Regions from separate parts of the Homo sapiens genome. Here region 1 is linked to region 2. Evidence: promoter capture Hi-C in 16 types of primary human blood cells and fetal thymus (Javierre and others, 2016). All regions are on one chromosome and are shown on one strand. Each heading gives the region's core, a stretch centred on a gene start or on the middle of the fragment in contact. The rest is flanking DNA. Distances are from core to core; before and after follow the strand shown.

Evidence for each region. Contacts are between HindIII fragments. The CHiCAGO score rates a contact against its expected background, and 5 or more counts as called.
Region 1: a fragment that was not itself captured here is called in contact with the fragment with the promoter of NDP-AS1 in region 2 in 1 of 17 cell types (erythroblasts); the score reaches 7.0 in erythroblasts.

The regions. Positions count from the first base shown.
Region 1 is chrX:45,201,218-45,208,194 of GRCh38, forward strand. No RefSeq gene overlaps it. Among named protein-coding and RNA genes, the nearest start is that of DIPK2B, 3.8 kb to the left of the region's middle. The HindIII fragment of the contact is 1,808 bases long and covers 405-2,212 here.
Region 2 is chrX:43,945,068-43,951,324 of GRCh38, forward strand. NDP-AS1 (NDP antisense RNA 1) reads left to right here and starts at 4,665. Exons shown (of 6, transcript NR_046631.1): 1 at 4,665-5,013. NDP (norrin cystine knot growth factor NDP) reads right to left here. Exons shown (of 3, transcript NM_000266.4): 3 at 3,709-4,959. The coding sequence ends at 4,732. RefSeq lists enhancers at 4,342-4,859, 4,860-5,376. The HindIII fragment of the contact is 3,781 bases long and covers 1,400-5,180 here.

The DNA.
Region 1 (6,977 bases), core at 59-2,558, 1.3 Mb after region 2:
CACCTGGGAGTTTCAAAGGATCCTGAAAGCCTCCACCCTCCACTGTTTTAATTCCAGGTTTATCTGTCCCTATGGATTACACGTGCACCCCAATTTTTGACCCCTCTGTGCTAGGTCATTTGTCCTGCCCCTTAATCAGCCCTCCTTCCCCCACTTTTACCATATTTGCCTGTGAAATAACTAGAGGTTAGCTTGCTTGCCATTAACTGGCACATTTAGCACTGATTTGAAAGCTTTTTGCTGCTTAGGGAAGAGAAAACCTCAGGTTAGTCCATCTTCTCTTGCTGGTCTGAGAACAAGAGACCAGAAAGAACCCGGTGGCCTCTGTGGCATGATGAGGGGAGCACCAGAAAGAGCCCTCTGACAGCACACAGCTGTGTCTATCCCTCTCCCACAGACCTGAAAGCTTCTCTTCCTTTACCAACTTGCTTCACTTCTCGGGGTGGCTTGGCCGGATTTGGTAGGATTTAACTGCCCCAGGATTGCCTTCCTCAGGATACCAAGATAAGGTCCGCAGCATGGAGTAGATGGAAGTGCTAATTTGGGAGTAGAGAGAACCTCTGAGAACCAAATCAGGGAAGTCAGGCTGCCTCACATTCTGTGAGAGGGTGGAGGTGGGGAGCGGGGCACGGTTTGAAAATATGAGAAAGTGCATAGGAAGATGGGGCTGGGGGTGAGGAAAAGGGAGGTAAGAGGGAGTGGGGATTGCCTCTGGACAATTGACAAGTTTTGCTAAAGATTGGTGGGAAGAGCAGGTAAAGGCAATTTTCTGATGATGAAGCACGTGCTTATTAGCATTTGTATAGCTTCCTCAGTAAAATGTCTGGTCATGTTTGCTTTTTATTGGTGAGTTTTGACGCTTGTTTATATATTCTAGATCCGAGTCCTCTGTTGGATATGTGGCTTGCAAATATTTTCTCCCCAGGGCTAACTTGTCTTTTATTCTTTTAACAGAGTCTTCTGCAGAGTGAAAGTTTTGATTTTGAAGTCCAATTTGTTAATTTTTTCTTTTTGAATCATGCTTTTGGTGTCAGGTGTGATAAAAGAAAAACTTAAGCACATTTAAATTTTAAAGAGTTTATTTGAATATTCAGCGATTCATGAATCAGGGCAGTATCAGACTGCAAACATTCTGCTGGGAGGGGCAAGAAAGGAAACTTTTATAGTGTTTGCAGAAGCAGGACAAAGAAAACAATTTTTATTGGTTAGAGTGGAAAGTCCCTAGTTAGAGATTAATTGGTGATTTTTTTGATTGGTACAATTTCTAGTTTAAATTTACTATTTACATTAGGCTTTGGTTTGTTCACACAGGAATTTAAAGTGCCAGAGCCACCTCAGTCTAATGGCCTTCCAATTAGAATTTTAAAACATAATTCATCCTTTTTGATCAGCCTCTCATTTAAGAGATATTGACTAAAACTTGGGCATAAGCTCCACTCTCTGTGACCATCATGGCTAAGTTGTCCTTGTCTCAGTGTGAAACTCATAAGTCACAACATCAAGCTCATTGAGGAAAGATTCCTTTTGTTGTTCATCTCATTTTTGTTGCTCTAATTACAGTGAGATCATCTGGCATACCGTTGATGACTGTGAACACACATTTAAGACCCTCAAGTGAATGTAGTTCACCAGGGAGATTATGATGACTACCAGGAGGATAATACTGAAAGACTGCAGTATGTTCCTTAGCCAAGGTCCTCACAAACCAACTCAACTAACATTTCTAGAGAAACAAAAGAAAACCAAAGGTCAATGACTAGAGCAAACTATAAATTCAGTCTGAGTCCAGAGGAAATTTAGTTAACAAGATTGCTAGATTTGAGCTTGAAACATATTTTTCTGGTTTGCAGTTTGAATGTCTCTGGTTATGGTACTGAGGGTTTCAATGATCTTCCTGAGTGGTCCACATATCAGGCATAAGGGTTGTCCTCAGAAGTCACATCAAGTTGTCTATAACTGCCTGGCAGGGTTTCAGGAACAGAGCACATCTTGTTCTGAGTGATTTCAAGTCTGAAAAATGGGAAAAAATTGGATTGGAGGAATAAAGATGAATTCAGAATTCAGTCCAGTCTACAAATAGACAATAAAACTCAAAAACAACAAATATGGCTACAATCTACTATCAAAAATTATGCACAGATCTTTTCAGACATTACAGGGGTCCTCTGGAATGTCCCAAAGTTAGTTCTAGGTCAAAAAGACTTAATTTAGAAGCTTATTTTGGGAAGTTTGTAAAAAATATCAAAAAGTCTAAAACACTTGATTAAATAGGATCATTAGTCATTATGAAACAATGAGAGGCAAATACAGAAAGGTTATATAGCTGTAAAAAAACTTAGCTCTTTTAATGTTGAGAATACTCATTTTTATATATATGTATATAAACAAAGACCTAGTAAAAGACAACACGAAGCACAAGAAATTATCCTGATAAAACACAAATCTTTGTAAGGTAGATCACTTAAAAGATAAGAAAAACCTTTCACCAAGAAAACTTTGTTCTTTCAACAGAAAAAAAGCCAGTGTCTAGCTTTGTATCAATGTACTTTTGATATTAAAGCTAATTTTTAAAAACCCTTCTAATAAATTTCATTCAGTTTTAGCGAGCTTGACAACACATGAAGTTCCTTTTTCAAATTTTAAACTGTCTATACTTTCTTATATCAATTTAGTTTGTCCTATACTCTTCCTCTCTCCCATTGTAGAACAATTAATCACTCTAATTTAGGACAAAAATTATTCTTTTTTTTCTCTTAACAAAAATACACCCTTATACTTAAACTTCCTTGACAAAACATGCCTTACTTCCTTCACATATACAGTTGTTGCCCTTATTATTTCTAGAAGTTTTAATTACATATATTAATTAGAATTTTAAATTCTTAGTAACCTTAATTTCTAGTGAAAACTAGTAAGCATTATAAACAGTTTCATATCAGCATTTTGTAAATAAACATCATGTCATATATAATCTTTCATGTTTATTAGCAGACCCAAATATATTTAGCTTCTCTATACTGTATAAAAACAAGACGCCAAAGTATATATACTTTAATCTTATGTTCAGCAGTTAATGTTTTAATGTTTTAACTTACTCAGAAATGGCTTCAATATTTATTGAATATTTATTACTTAATTGAACATAGCATAACTTTAAGATTTCAAGTTACCGGCCGGGTGTGGTGGCTCATGCCTGTAATCTCAGCACTTTGGGAAGCGGAGGCAGGTGGATCACCTGAGGTCAGGAGTTTGAGACCAGCCCATTATGGTGAAACCCCGTCTCTACTAAAAATACAAAAAGTAGCCAGGCATGGTGGCATGCACCTGTAGTCCCATCTACTTAGGAGGCTGAGACGGGAGAATTGCTTGAACCCCAGAGGCGGTGGAGGTTGCAGTGAGCTGAGGTCACGCCACTGCACTCCAGCCTGGGAGACAGAGCAAGACTCCATCTCAAAATAAAAAAAAAAAAATTAGAAAAAAAGATTTCAAGTTACAAAAAAAGATTTTTGGAACAATTTTTAGTAGACATATTTCATAAAACATAATTATTTTTGAAGTTTATAGACTTTTATTTCATTTACATTTACCCAATTCATTGTTTTTTTTAATTTTTAATTTTTGTGGGCACATAGTAGGTATATATATTTATGGGGTATATGGGATATTTTGATACAGGCATATAATGTGTAATAATCATATAAGGGTGAATGGGGTATCCATCCCTTCAAGCATGTATTCTTTGTGTTACAATCTAATTATACTTTTTCAGTTATTTAAAAATGTTCAATTACATTATTATTGACTGTAGTCACCCTGTTGTGCTACCAAATACTAGATCTTATTCATTCTTTGTAACTATTTTTTGTACCCATTAACCATCCCCACTTCCCCTCCCCCGACACCCTCACTACCCTTTCCGTCCTTCTACTTTCCGTCCTTCTACTTTCCATCCTTCCTTTCCATACTTCTACCCTTTCTATCTGGTAACCATCCTTCTACTCTCTATCTCCATGAATTCAACTGATTTTATTTTTAGATTCCCACAAATAAGTGAGAACAAGTGAATTTTGTCTTTCTATGCCTGGCTTATTTCACTTAACATAATGATCTCCAGTTCCATCTGTGTTGATGCAAATGACAGGATCTCATTATTTTTAATGGCTGAATAGTATTCCACTGTGTGCATGTACCACATTTTCTTTATCCATTTGTCTGTTGATGGACACTTAGGTTGCTTCCAAATCTTGGCTATTGTGAATAGTGCTACAGTAAACCTGAGAGTACAGATACCGCTCTGATATACTGATTTCCTTTCTTTTGAGTATATACCCTGTTAGGGTATATAGTGCAATTGCTGAACCACATGGTAACTCAATTTTTAGTTTTTTGAGGAACCTCCAAACTGTTCTCCATAGTGGTTGTACTAATTTACCTTCCCACTAACAGTGTATGTGGGTTCCCTTTTCTCCACATTTTCTCTAGCATTTGTTATTGCCTGACTTTTGGATAAAAGCCATTTTAACTGGGGTGAGAAAATATCTCACTGTAGTTGAGCACCTTTTCATAAACCTGTTTTCCATCTCTACATTTTTTTTTTTGAGAAATGTCTGCTCAAATCTTTTGCCCATTTAAATAATCAGATTATTAGAATTTTTTTCTATAGAGTTGTTTGAACTCCTTATATATTCTGATTATTAATTCTTTGTCAGATAAATAGTTTGCAAATATTTTCTCCCATTCTGTGGGTTGTCTCTTCACTTTGTTAATAGTTTCCTTTGCTGTGCAAAAGTTTTTTAACTTGATGTGATCCCATTTGCCCATTTTTTGCTTTGGTTGCCTGTGCTTGTGGGGTATTATACAAGAAATCTTTGCCCAGTCCAATGTCCTGGAGATTTTCCCCAATGTTTTCTTGTAGTAGCTTCATGGTTTGAGGTCTTAGATTTAAGTCTTTAATCCATTTTGATTTGATTTTGACATACAACGAGAGATAGGGGTCTAGTTTCATTCTTCTGCATATGGATATCCAATTTTCACAGCACCATTTATTGAAGAGATTGTCCTTTCTCCAATGTATGTTTTTGGCACCTTTGTCTAAAGTGAGTTTACTGTAGATGTGTGGATTTGTTTCTGCATTCTCTGTTGTGTTCCATTGTTCTATGTGTCTGTTTTTCTGCCGGTACCATGCTGTTTTGGTTACTATAGCTCTGTAGTATAATTTGAAGTCAGGTAATATGATTCCTCCGGTTTTATTCTTTTTGCCCAGGATAGTTTTGGCTATTATTTGCTTTCTATATCTGGGTGCTCTAGTGTTGGGTGCACATATATTTAAAATTGCTAAATTGACCCCTTTATCATTATATAATGACCTTCTTTGTCTTTTCTTATTGTGTTTGACCTGAAATCTATTTTGTCTGATATAAGTATAGGTACTCTTGCTCTTGTTTGTTTTCCATTTGCATGGAATATCTGTTTCCATCCCTTTATTTTCAGTCTATGTGTGTCTTTATAGGTGAAGTGTGTTTCTTGTGGGCAATAGATCATTGGGTCTTGTTTTTCTATTCATTCACCTGCTCTATAACTTTTGATTGGAGAATTTACACTATTTACATTCAGTGTTATTATTGATAAGTAAGGACTTACTCCTGTCATTTTATTAATTTTTTTCTGATTGTTTTGTGGTCTTCTCTTCTTTCTTTCCTCCCTGTCTTCCTTTTAGTGAAGGTAATTTTCTCTGGTGGTATGTTTTAATTTCTTGCTTTTTATTTTTTGTGTATTTGTTGTATGTTTTTTGGTTTGGGGTTACCATGAGGGTTGCAAAGAACATCTTATAACCCGTTATTTTAAACCAATGACAACTTAACACTGATAGCATAAACAAACAAACAAAAACAAAACTAATAAAAACTCTACACAACTCTGTCTCCCTGCTTTTTAACTTTTTGTTGTTTCAATTTATATCTTATTGTACTACATCTTGAAAAATTGTTGTAGTTATTATTTTTGATCAGTTTATGTTTTTGCCTTTCTACTTAAAATATGAGTTTACACACCACAATTACAGTGTTATAATATTCTGTGTTTTTCTATGTACTTATTATTACCAGTGAGTTTCATACCTTCAGATGATTTCTTATTGCTCATTAATGTTCTTTTCTTTTGCTTGAAGAGCTCCCTTTAGCATTTCTTGTAGGACAGGCTTGGTGTTGATGAAATCTTTTAGCTTTTGTTTGTCTGGGAAAATCTTTATTTCTCCTTTATGTTTGAAGGACATTTTCACCGGATATTACTATTCTAGGATAAAAGTTTTTTCCTTCAGCACTTTAAATATGTCATGCCACTCCCTTCTGGCCTGCAAGGTTTCCACTGAAAAGTCTGCTTCCAGATGTATTGGAGTTCCATTGTATGTCATTTGTTGCTTTTCCCTTGCTGCTTTTAGGATCCTTTCTTTATCCTTGACCTTTGAGAGTTTAATTATTGAATGACTTGAGGTAGTCTTCTTTGTATTAAAATTTCTTGGTGTTCTATAAGCTTCTTGTATTTGAATATTGATGTATTTCTCTAGGTTTGGGAAGTTCTCTGTTATTATCTGTTTGAATAAACTTTCTATTTCCATCTTTCTCTCTACTTCCTCTTTAAGGGCAGTATCTCTTGGATGTGCTCTTTTAAGGCTAATTTCTATATTTGTAGTCATGCTTTTTTTAAATTCTTTTTTTCTGTTGTCTCCTCTGACTGCGTATCTTCAAATAGCCTGACTTCAGGCTCACTAATTCTTTGTTCTGCTTGATCAAGTCTGCTGTTGAGAGACTCTGATGCATTCTTCAGCATGTCAATTTCACTTTTCAACTCTAGAATATCTGCGTGATTCTTTTTTAATTATTTCAGTTTTTTTGTTGAGTTTATCTGATAGGATTCTGATTTCCTTCCCTAAAAATAAATGTTCCCTCCCCCAAGGACACAGATTCTCTCTCCACATGATG
Region 2 (6,257 bases), core at 3,415-5,914:
ATGACAATTGGCAGATACCTACACAAGATGGTTTGGTGGTCCTTTTCTTTGTCCACATGCTTTAGAAAAAAGAAAAAGACGGTTTTTGGAATAACAAAGAAGACATAGACTTTGAGGTCAGAAAGTGACCTCAGGTTTCTTTTCTGTGAAACTTTTGTAATAATTAACTTATTCCATAAAGATATAGAATCTTTTGAGAACCAAGTGAGATACTATCTGTGGAAGTGCGATACAAATGCTAATGTTATTATTAAAAGTCATATCGCCTTATGTTAAAATGGTTGCTTTCAAACTAAGAACACCAGATTGTCTCTTTGTAGGTTACCTCTATATGTCATTAGCGCACTTATTATAGTCATCTCTCACTCTCTCAGTCTGTGCACATATTAAAAGCAAGGATAGGACTTTTTGATCTCAGTATCTCCAGCATTTAGTATTCTAGCTGACACATAGGAGGCACTGTCACATATTCTTAAACCATGCATTTAAGGAAGCAAAAACATTGATTTGAACCTTTAAATATTATGAGCCACACAATGAGACTAGATGGCTTAGATCCAAAATGAATGAATTTCTTTCTTTTTACAGATCCATAAATATATAAAATTTACTGTTGCAGGCTTGGTTCTCAAGAGTCACATACTGAGTTAAAGTTTGTGGTGCAGGATATTTATTAGGGATCAGCATCCATAGAAGACAAGTGGGGAAGCAAGCTTAGGTAGAAAGAGGAGTGCTCATTAGAGTTGTCCTTCACTGGGCCAAGATAGCCAGGCCTTTATACCCTGGCCTTCGTCAATCACTGGATATGAGCCATTCTGGAAGAGCATGTCCTTGGGCAAGGTGACTCCTTGCAGCTGAGGCCGTTCCTGAAGGGGTTGACAGCTGAGGCAACCCCTTTTTAAGGGGGATCTGGCTGGTGCATCTCTATGTTTGCCATAGTCATCAAATTTAAAATGTTCTGTGCCCCACATGAGAAGACGGCATAGAGCACAGGATGACTTTAATCAATGAGACATTTGAAATTAGATTTATAATTGAATAAAAGAAAAGGCTTGTACTGTCATAGATTTATGGTAGAATATACCAAAAATTAATGTACTGAAGACTTACAGAAAAACAAAAGGCTCTAACATTGATTTGTTGGCATGTGATGCCAATTTCTTATGAAATGCTGTCTTTTAGCAGGTGTTGCTGAGTACCTTTTTGTGCGTTGAAACAAGCAAAGAGTTCCTCCCAGAGTGTAATGATGCAGTGATGGGAAGAACTCTTCCCAGATTCAAGTCTCTCTACTGTTCTAGCTCCTGAAGAGAACAGGTGTGTCTGTCCACCAGGAGGTGTCTGTACCCTAGAGTCATGACGAGTGCAGCATCAGCGGGATATGGCTTCCCTTTCTGATCTAAGCTTTCTCACCCCTACCCACCCCTCAGCCCCAATACATTTGGTGTTTCATCTTGGGCAGCTCTCTTGCTCAAGTGTATAGGTTTCAGTGGTGCCCAAAGAAGTGAACAAAAGCAAACCCATACCTTAATTTATTCAAGGTCACAAAGAAGAAATCAACTTACTCAGTTTCCCAGTCATAACGTGTATGCGACCTGCTCTACCTAACACAAAATAATGTGTTGGGTGGACTAGCAAACACAGGAGTTTAGAAGAAAATCAACCACTATTTCCTCAGGACCTAGAAAGGTTGATTTGTCCTTCATTTTGAGCTTCTGGGGATAGTTCAGGAGCTTATGTGTATTAAGATTTAAGGTATTGGTCTGTAAAACTGGGATGTCAAGAAAATCAATTAAGTTCATAAACCTATCTTCCACTGCAGTACTAACTCATTATTATTAAATGCTTAAAAATGATGAGGGCAAGATCAGTTTACAGGAGGCTTGCCCTCCACCATTATAGATTATCAGACAGATTTCTAAGAGGTAAGCTACTAAAATTATAACATACTTTAATTTTCTCATGCATAGTAAATGGGGAAGCAAATGAACACTTCTTAGACATTCCAGGAGTAATGTTTTTAACTGATCAATGTTTTCATTTGGTTGTCTCTCAATCCTTAGGGGTAGACACCAAAATAAGGCTAAATATGTTTAATTTTTAAAAGATAGAAAACAAATTCCATAGTAACTTAATATCCAGTAATGTCTGAAATCTCTCAGTTCCCAAGGCTATTTTTAGGTCTTTAGGGAAAATATAACTATTTTTCCCCTTTCTCAGCCTTGCTATTCCCCTAAACTTTACCCTGTCTCGCCACACTCTAAGATCCTGAAAGGAGCCAGGCTCCTTTCACTGGTGGCAGGAAGGAAATTAAAGCAGTCAGGGTTGTGAGGAGCAGGAAGCGTGGGTTCGAGTTCCAAATCCAAGAGTGTCTGTGACTTTCAGCCAGTTCCTGGATTTCTACAGGCCTCCATTTGCTCATGTATTTAAGGAGAGAAGAGGATGTATGCTTTCTAATAGTTCTTCCAAGGCCACTGTCCTGTGATTCTTTAATGCTCCAAGTATATTCTGCTCATTTCCATGGGGGAAACTTTGTCAATAGACCATGTAATGGGATTTGAAGGGACTATTTTCTATGGCTTCCAGAGAATTTGGAAGATATGAGTCATATAACTGCCCCCTGTAGTCCCAAATTGGTAGAAGGAAATAAAGACTAGAGTTTAGGGTATAGATTATAGATTCTCAAAGAAAATTGAGTTTTTAAGGCCCAGAAAATACTTTTTAAGGCTGGAAGTATTATTTTTCACTTTTTGATTAGCAACATGAAAGAACAGTCATAAATGTGACCAACAGTTAATACTTTCATTATCAGTTAAAAATTATAACCATTTAACTTTCAGTATTAAATTTAATTCCATTTATGACAAAATTCTTCATGTAATGGTCCAAACTGCCATTTCGCATTTGCCTTCAGAATGAGGAGAACCTCCAATTTAGGAGACTGGCTGGCTGTGTCACCACAGAGATTAAGATCAAGGTCAAGATTTAATAGCATTAGTTTCATTCTGTTTCAAAGCCATGAATACAAGTATAACCCTGCTGGCTTTCTTAAGAATGTGTGAAAGCTGTGCCAAAGAGTGTTCAAAACCATTATCTCTACTGGAAAAGTAATTCACAGGTTGGCTGTACTAACAGTGGGGGAGTTAATATCATCTCTAGTTAACCAGGACAAGGTTGCCCTGGAAACTGAATTGCCAAGTCTGGATTTGTATTGAGATACCTAAGAGGGACATAGCACTGTGCTAACATCATGAGTATTCTTGTAATGCCCAGTAATATCATTCGATCCTGAGCACTGCACAGTCAATGGCACAGAAATGTTGTTAACTATTTGTCCTTCTGCTGGTTCTTCCAACTTCACTTATGGATATTTATTTTCTTCTGAGAAAAGTGAAGAAATTAAAAAGGAGGGGACTCCTCTGTTTCATTCCATAGCTTCCAAGGAAGCCAAAATGCATTAGATTTTGTGTTTATTCAATGGGCTAAAATCTAAAACTCAGAGTCAAATTTAATAAGCCCTCAACACCTTGTTACATTGATTTCAAAAAAATGTTCCCACAATGCATTCTGGAACCCCATTTCTGTCTCCTTTTTTTTTTTTTTGACTCTTTTACTATATCATAGGAGATGCTCAAGCACTAGCTACATGTATGTTCTAGTCCACATGATAGTAGGATATCAAGTAGGAAAAAAATACTTAAACAGTCAAAATTTTGAATATACTCTTTTTATTTCAAAACGTGGGAATAACTCAAAATTTGAGCCTCCAGGACCAAAACACATTTGAACCAAACGTTCAGAAGACAAGCCAGGCCACCATTTTGGCAACATGTTTCACATGGACAAGTGGATATTAGAGAATGATGCCCGTGACACGGCTAAAGCTATAGCACACCCACAAATAGATTCATACTTGGTTGTCTAATTTGCATGCATGAGTATGGTGCATTCTCCATGCCACTAGTACATATATGCCTTTTCCAGAGTCAGTGCAGGATCCGTATTTGTGCAAGTCTTTAAAAGTCTGCTCCCTTACAAAATTTTACCATAATTTATCTGAGACAGCCTTCCTGTGACAAATTCTTTATGCTGCTTTTACTTTCAAAAAGTCATTTCTGAATAATAATTATAGCTGTCAAGAGTTCCAGCATCACATAAAAGAATCTGTTTGTTAGTTATTTTAATGTCAGTTCGCTGGCTGTGAGTAAACGTAGCTAAACATATCCACATGCTTGGTATCTGGACTTTGAAATCGGTAACCTTTAGCAGCAATGGCAACCTTAGACCAAAATGACAAGGTAAAAAAAAACATCAACAATAACAGAAGATGTCCCAGGAAAAGCTGGGCTTTTCTACTTTCCAAAGTAAATTCTTCCCCAGCGTGCACCAAACACTGACAGCCTGACACGCTTGTGTATGAGGGCCCACTTTTTCCCACTAATGCTGAATTGTTGGAAACCCAAACAGCATTGAGAGCCAAGGGGGAAAATGCCTGAATCTGAAAATGAACCAAAAGAAATTGTACCAGAGAAAGGAGATGGGAACTGCAAAGAAGTTCCCAGAGTATCTCTCTCTGTCAACAAGCATGTAGAGTCTTTATTACTAGAATATGCAGAGTCCCGGGAGAATTGTTGCATCCTTTTTTGCCTTAACTCTTTTCTTGCCAGTCTTTCCCTGGCTGGTCGAACTGCCTCTACAGTTGTCCCATCCAGAAGCCACACACAGCAGCGGGCCTCAGGAATTGCATTCCTCGCAGTGACAGGAGAGGATGTACCGGTAGGTGGCAGTGAGTCGCATGCCCCCTGAGCATCGCAGCCGCAGTGCCTTCAGCTTGGAAGTCTGGGGCCGGCAGCAGTGACAGGAGGAACGGAAGGGTTGCTTGAGGACAGTGCTGAACGACACCAAAGGCTCGGAGCGTGACGCCTGGCTGCAGTGCCCCTCGCACCTGGCCAGGAGCACCATCTGGGGAAAGAAAAGGAGGTGGTTACTCTGTGGGCATGCCACAACCTTAGCCAGGTAAAACAGCATCTTTTGAAAGACCCTCACACTCGTTGCCAATTCCTGCTAGATTAGACCAGTGGCTCAATGCATGTTGCATTTTTTTTAAGTCAACACCCAGGCCTCATTCAGATCGATTGAATTAAAATCCTTGGAGATAGGGACCAGGCTTTCATGGTTTTCAAAGCTTCTTAGGTGATTTCTAAGTGTACTGAGGGTTTAGAACCACTGAATGACGCCCATCACTGTGATGTGCGAGTAAAAACCAAAGAACAAAAGAAATTTCTCCTGACAGGTAGTGGTCTACCACTGGCCCAATGCATTGCAATTCTACCAGTAGCAAAATGCAGAAAGTCAATCCAAATTGAAACCAAGAAGTAAATTAAAATGACTACCAAAAAAAAAAAAAAAAAAAAGAAATTGATTTGTGCAGGAAATAGCTAAAGAACAGGAATATAGTTTCTGAATAAGAAAATAGGATAGCCTGAGTAATGCTTAGGAAGAAATATTCTGGGTGCTGCAATTTGGGACAAGAGAATGAAGTAGAGACAGGGCATGTCTGGGGCCCTGAAATCACACTTCTGGGTTTATATGTTGAAGGAGCCTGGGATTTATGTAATTGCATCCGCATCTTCAGAGTCATTTGCGGCAAATATTAGGATGTACCCATTCTGATAATCTCTATTTCCAAAGATTGGGCTGGAATAACGGAGGCTATGTGTTCTTTATAGTAGCTCTTAATCTGGCTTTAGCAAACAGACACCTTTAAGAATCTGATGAAAACTACCAAAGTTATCCCCAGAAAAATGTACATAAGCACACACACAATTTGCATACAGCTTAACGGAATGGAAAAAAGGATCATTTATGTATCCCATACAAAACTCCTGGTATCCTGGGAGTGGGAGTAATAGGTGGGTAGGGTGGGACAGCTTGACTCATTAAGCTGCATAATCCTAATATCAAGGTGGGGAGGGGAATGGAGAATCTGAGATTATTGGTCCCATGGTTATGTAAGAGGTTTTGCTTGGTGAATTTCATGTTAAGTGATGGAGAAAAAAATCCCCTGGGCCAGGTGTATTGTCTCATGCCTATAATCCCAACACTTTGGAGTCTGAGGCAGGAGGATCACTTGACCCCAGGAGTTTGAGACCAGCCTGGGCAACATAGCATGACCGTGTCTCTAAAAAAAAAAATAAAAAGTTAACCAGGCGTGGTGATGTGCACCTGTAGTCCCAGCTACTTTGGCAGCTGAGGCAGGA